2 separate regions of the Homo sapiens genome follow, and region 2 is linked to region 1. Evidence: promoter capture Hi-C in 16 types of primary human blood cells and fetal thymus (Javierre and others, 2016). All regions are on one chromosome and are shown on one strand. Each heading gives the region's core, a stretch centred on a gene start or on the middle of the fragment in contact. The rest is flanking DNA. Distances are from core to core; before and after follow the strand shown.

Evidence for each region. The method cuts DNA at HindIII sites, captures the fragments that hold promoters and counts their contacts. A CHiCAGO score of 5 or more calls a contact.
Region 2: a fragment that was not itself captured here is called in contact with the fragment with the promoter of LRTM2 in region 1 in 2 of 17 cell types (naive CD8 T cells and naive CD4 T cells); the score reaches 5.4 in naive CD8 T cells.

The regions. Positions count from the first base shown.
Region 1 is chr12:1,818,882-1,821,981 of GRCh38, reverse strand. It overlaps LRTM2 (leucine rich repeat transmembrane protein 2), which reads right to left and starts at 1,417. Exons shown (of 5, transcript NM_001039029.3): 1 at 1,168-1,417. The region is part of intron 26 of CACNA2D4 (calcium voltage-gated channel auxiliary subunit alpha2delta 4); the gene reads left to right. RefSeq lists an enhancer at 1,101-1,847. The HindIII fragment of the contact is 5,864 bases long and covers 1-3,100 here.
Region 2 is chr12:1,953,216-1,956,315 of GRCh38, reverse strand. It overlaps DCP1B (decapping mRNA 1B), which reads left to right. Exons shown (of 9, transcript NM_152640.5): 6 at 756-884; 7 at 3,028-3,100. Among named protein-coding and RNA genes, the nearest start is that of LINC00940, 18 kb to the right of the region's middle. RefSeq lists an enhancer at 1,060-2,259. The HindIII fragment of the contact is 1,383 bases long and covers 715-2,097 here.

The DNA of each region.
Region 1 (3,100 bases), core at 168-2,667:
TCCACGTGCTCGGCTCCCTCCCCGCCCCCACCTGAGGCAGTTATCTAAGCTGCAGGGGTGTCATCTGAGTCACAAAGAGACACTGCCCAAGTAGCCCTGACAGCCGGGTGCCAACACCCCCCAGAAATGTGGACAGCTTGGGGGTGGGGGAGAGACAGGGCCGCCAACTGGAACCCAGCCCCAGACCTGCAGGGAGGTGCAGGAATGTGAACTTCCGACTCCTGGTCAGGCTGCTCCTCTCTCCAGCACTGTCCAAATGGGTCTGGGGGATTGAGAGCAACTGTCCCGCTCTACTCAGGGTGTCCATGCCCCCTGTGTGGGTCAAGAAGCCAGGCAGGCCTGGCCCCGCTGTGTACCCCCCACCCAAGCTCAGTGTCCAGCCCCCACTAAGGCTCCCTGACCCATTTGCAGATGGACGGCTGGGTGCACAGCTGCGGGACACCCCAGCAGGTTCTCGCGGGCCTGGTTCTCCTGTCTTGCCCTTGGGCTAGCAGGGAAGGGCTGCGATACTTCTCTCTCCTGCCCACTCCCAGCCTCACCCTCACCAGGGAGGCTTCATGCACAGCTGAGTGGGCCCATGCTCATCTGGGGGAGGGTTCCTCCACACCCTTGTCCAAGGACAGCCACCTGCAGGCAAGCTATAGGGAGGCCCAGGACCTGGGTCTGTGCCCATGCCTCTGACATCCAGGACCTCCTCCCTGCCACCCTCCACCCCAAGCCTTCCTCTGACCTGGCCCTGTCCCCAGCACCTGACTGCCATCCCAACCGCTTCCCATGACCCCCGAGTTTCTTGGGGCTGTCTGTGCAGAGCCGGGCACAACGACAGCACAAGGCTCTTGGCTGCTTCTCCCATGCTGCAGGGACCGGTTTCTATGCCACCCGGGACTGTCATCTGGCGCCAGCGCTGCCCTCCTCCCCACTTCCCAGCAGAATCCACAGCTCTTGTCCCCAGCACTGTGGGCTCAGAGTTCCCAGTGTCGTGCACCTTTGGGATGCTCAGGTGCCTGAGCCCGAGCAGCTTCTTCGGCCCCAGCAATTGCCTGCAGGTAGGAAGCAACTGCAGCTATTCCTGCAGGGCAGAGATGGCCGGTGCCCACTTCCCATGCCCCGACCACCCCCTGTCCCCACCAACCCTCCATTCCTTCCTACCAGCCACTCGGTACTCACCCGTCTTTACTCTGACTGCAAACGCCTTCAATCAGGTGGCTCTCAACCCTCCAGTAAGACCCTCCTGGGATTCCTATAGAAATCCAGACACCACCGGCAGGCAGAGCGCAGTGGGCACTGGTGCCAGAGTCTCCACTCAGCGGGAGCAGCGGCTGGCACGCAGCACACAGCACCAGGAGGTGGACTGCTTGTGGCAGACGGGGGACGGGGCTGCTGGGTCAGTCACAAACTGAGAAGGAAAGAGAGGGATGGAGGGAGAGAGAGAGAGGAGAGAGGGAAGAAAGGGGCGAGGGAGGAGAGCGCACGCGTGTGCGCGAGCAGCGAGCCAGAGTGGAGCGGGGAGTGACAGCTGGGGTGCATCTGTGATGACAGCGGCAGCAGCACACACAGGCGCACACCAGAGGCACCACGGCCGGCCGCGAGGGCAGCGCTCACCCTGGCCACGCTCACATTTCAGTGGAAAAAGGCGCCTGTGGATGAATCGCTGCCGACCACAGGGAGGAGGAAAGCGGTTTCACCACCACCTCCATCTTCCATCCTGCGCCTCCAGGCTCTCCCTCACCCCCCCGGCTGCACCTGTCTTCTGTGCCTCTCTCCTCTCTTCCCCTCCATCTGGGGAAAGAGGGACAGGCGCAGACACAGAGCAAGCGGCTGACTTCTGTTCCGATGGAGGCCCCCCTGGGAAGCTGGTCTTTCTCCTGTTTTAGAGACATGCGAGGCAGAGTCTCCCATCCTGCCTGAGAGAAGGAAAAACCGAACCCTTCTCTCGGTCATACGAAAGAAGGGTACACAGGCATGTCCATGTGCCAGATGACCCTACAGGAAAGGGCCCTGAGCCCCCACAAAGCCAGGGATCACATGGTCATGCAGAGGTCACTGAGCCTCAGGGTCTGACCACCCGACGCCAGGACTACTTAGGGAAGCAGAATGCCAGAGTTGGCAGGCTGGGAGTTTGGGCACAGGGCAGCCTGCAGCAGCAGCCTGCAGACCGTTCTCAGTGCCAGGGACGAGCTTGGCTTCTCAGGGCTCCTTGCTCTTATCTGTGATGGGTCAGGCATGCGAAGGGAAGAGACTGTCATTCAAGAACTTGGAGGCCTCTTTCTTAACCAATCAGGACAAAGCAAGTCAGAAAAATTGATATCCTAAGAGATGGGAAGTGGCTGATCTGAAGGCCAAGTGAGTCAGGGACCAAGCTAGAGGGGAGCCAGGGCCCCACCAGCCTGGAGCACGAACCCTAAATCCCCCTTCCTTTGCGTCCACTGCCTGTAGACAGATGAAGCACCGTGCTAGCGATATATCACCGTGTCCTATGTCCCTCTTCCATTTTGCCTGCTTTGCTGGAGGGGTTCACAGCCAGGACTGGGGTGGGTGTAGAAGAACCCCCTGGACTCAGGATGCCCCTAGAAGGATGCTCCTGCTCACTCCCTTCTGTCCGTTCTGCCGGGTCCCCGGGCAGCACAAGGCTTGAGCTGCAGTGTCTTTTACCTCTGGGGAGTCCCGCCTCTGACCTCTCATGCTGGTGCCTCCCACACATCCCACTGTCAAGCAAAAGAGGCTCCCACCTCCCCATAAACATACTTCCTGCTTCTCCATCTCCATGAAAGCGTGTTCTTCCCTGGGCCTGAAATGCTCTCCTGCCCATGGGTGGCTTCCCCCTTCCTTAAACGCCCCCTGCAAGGTGACGTTTCCCCGGAACACCACAGGACTGGCCCTGCTCCTCCTCCGATCTCTGGCATTCTCTTTGGGCCACCCTCATGTTGTGCAGGAGCTTTCTGTGGTCTGCTTCATCTCCTTTCCTTTTTTTTTTTTTTTTAATTTTTTTAGTATTTATTGATCATTCTTGGGTGTTTCTCGGAGAGGGGGATTTGGCAGGGTCATAGGACAATAGTGGAGGGAAGGTCAGCAGATAAACATGTGAACAAAGGTCTCTGGT
Region 2 (3,100 bases), core at 157-2,656, 130 kb before region 1:
ATATTGTTTTATTTAGTGTTTTAGCAAACTAGACACCAGTATCATTGCCATGCTCTTTTTGTTATGAATCCTACTGTGTTAGCAATTGCATGGTTGGTTAGATTAATGTATAATAATGAGTCAGTGTTGGAAATGATGAGATTTGTCTCTTGTCTCTTTCTCTACAAAATTCTAATTTGTAGTAAGTAGCTCAGAACGCTCAGATTTGAATTACTCTGTTTATGCAAGAAGTCATTTATTAAATAAAGATGATGTTAGTAATTTTTAAATCAGTGGTTTGAGTCAGCTTTTTGGTTTGTAGACCAAAAAAGATTTAGTTACTTTGATGAAATGTACTCAACTACTCTCCAATTTTAAGTCAACTGCTTAAATTGTCCAGACATGTTATTTAAGGAATGGTTTCTATATTTGTTTATCATTGAAAGACATTAGACTATATATATTTAAACGTATAGTCAATATATTAAGCACAGAACCTTTCAATTATACAGGTGTCTTAAGAACCCCTGGTCCTGGAGGCTGGTGTTGTTAGTAATATTTAGAGCACTGAATTGTCCAACTAAGAAAAATTAAATTTTAACTTGATTTATACTCAAACATAGCTCTTAGAGAAATTTAAGGGATTTTCCTTTGTGCATGAAAATCTATCAAAAACACAGCCGTCTACCAATTAGATAAGAAGTAAAAAGGTAGTCTTTTAAAAAGACTAAAGCTTTTCTAAGCCAAAAATGAGGGGATTTTCTTTTCTATTTCAGTGTAAAACCTGTTCTGAGCCAAAAAAGATAACCAGTTCCTCTGCCATCTATGACAATCCAAATCTCATCAAACCAATTCCAGTGAAACCCAGTGAAAACCAGCAACAGCGTATACCTCAGCCCAACCAGGTACGGAGTTCTCTGCTTGTCATATTCAGTGTGTCTCTAGAATTCTTAAAGAACTTTGACCCAGAATATAGTCAGGGGAGGGCCTGGTGTTGTTGAAGAATGCTTTCAGGTAAACCCAAGAAAGCGGGATTTCAGAATACAGATTTTTTCATTATTAATAACTTACTCTTCCTAGAAGAGGGTTAAAGTTTTTACTTTTGGCATATACCACATTCTGTGCTAATCTCTTGTGAACTTGAACTCCTTAAAAGATAATGTATTTTTTAAAAAACAACAAGCCAGCACAGTGGCTCAAGCCTGTAATCCCAGCACTTTGAGAGGCTGAGGCGAGAGGATCATTTGAGGCCAGAAGTTTGAGAGCAGCCTGGGCAACACAGTGAGACTCCATCTCTACAGGAAAATTAGCCAGGCATGATGGCGTGCACCTGTAGTGCTAGCTGCTCTGGAGGCTGAGGCGGGAGGATCCCTTGAGCTTAGGAGTTTGAGGTTACGGTGAGCTATGGAATGCGCCACTGCACTCCAGCCTGGGCAAGAAAGCAAGACCATGTCTCAGAAAACAAAAACAAACAAACAAGCACCCTAGAAAACTAATAACATTGTCAGAGATGACAGAAACATTACCCATTGGGTCCATATTCTTCTGGGGTGGGTGGCTTCCCAAGGCCACCTGGGAGAACCACCAAGGACACAGAGTTGATTTGAGCACTTCTGAGCACCTCCTCTGTGCCAGATGCAGAGCTAGCACTGTAGACTGGGGTAGCTGCCGCCGAGAGCTCAGAGTCCAAAGGAATGGTATAAAACTCCTCTTCAGATATGATGACTTGTCACTGTCTTTGCAATCTAAATTAGAAATATTACAGCAGCTTTTGTGTTAGTGTATATATATATATATATACACTTCAGAATAGTACAGCAATGACAAAAATTGTCAATCTGTAGGTCCCATTAATGATTGTAAATATAATATTGCTGTGTCATTTTATCATGACTATGACTAATTAAAAAGATTTTCTTAAAGGAATTAGTTTATATCAATTTTGAAAATGAACATGGAGCCAAAAGACATAAAGACTAGTAATGAAAATCTTATATTGAATTTTTAAAGAAAAGAAGTCTTCTAATTTTTTAGCTTTCTTTTTATTGCTTGTTTTATGGAAAGTTTTTATTATATTTTAATAGCGAGACCTGAATATGTTGACTTTAAAATGAAGCTTGTGGTTTTTTTTCTTTCCTCTTTTATTTTTTTTTTTGAGACAGATTTCATTCCTGTTACCCGGGCTGGAGTGCAGTGGCACCATCTCAGCTCACTGCAACTTGTGTCTCCTGGGCTCAAGCAATCCTCCCACCTCAGCCTCCCAAGTAGCTGGGACTACAGGCGTGTGCTGCCACATCTGGCAATTTCTGTATTTTTTGTAGAGATGGGGTTTTGCCATGTTGCCCAGGCTGGTCTTGAACTCCTTAGCTCAAGCAGTCTGCCTGCCTTGGCCTCCCAAAGTGCAGGAATTACAGGCATGAGCCACTGTGCCTAGCCTCATGTTTTCTCAGTGCAACAATGCAGAAAGCAACAGAAGTAAAGAGCAAGAAGGAAGTAGCTTTGTAACTGGCTGGGCCAAGGTAGATTTTATGTATCCAAGGACTTTTTAAATCCTACCAGTATATATTTGAAAGGATCAAGTTAGATTTAAAGTCTTCCGTTTCTTTCCAGCCCTTGATTTCCATAATTCTGTGAAAAACTACTAGAAATTCTGAAATGCTTATATTCCTTTGTATTCTCATATTACTCTGCAGGCTTAGATGGGCTTCCTATTGAACAGATTGTTTATTTTTTTAGTGCATATAATTTCCTACCAAGGTGGTTCCCAATCTGTGAAACCCCAGGCCCTTGAAGATCTTATACCTGTTTTATCGGTCAACAGATATTAAAATATAATAACTGTTTTGGGGGTGCAAGGGGAGCATGCTGTGAAAATTTTTGACATTAAAAAGGGGATCTCATTTTTCAAGTTTATTATTATTATTTTTCATTCTCTCTAATCAATCCTTTGTAAATAGAATAAGTCATCAGATAAGTTATGTTTCATAGCACTTCCTCATATAACCAAATTGTTTGTAGACTCATGTCAGATATCTTTATTTTTTCCAGACCTTAGACCCTGAACCCCAACACTTATCCTTGACAGCTCTGTTTGGGAAGCAGGACAAAGCTACATGTCAGG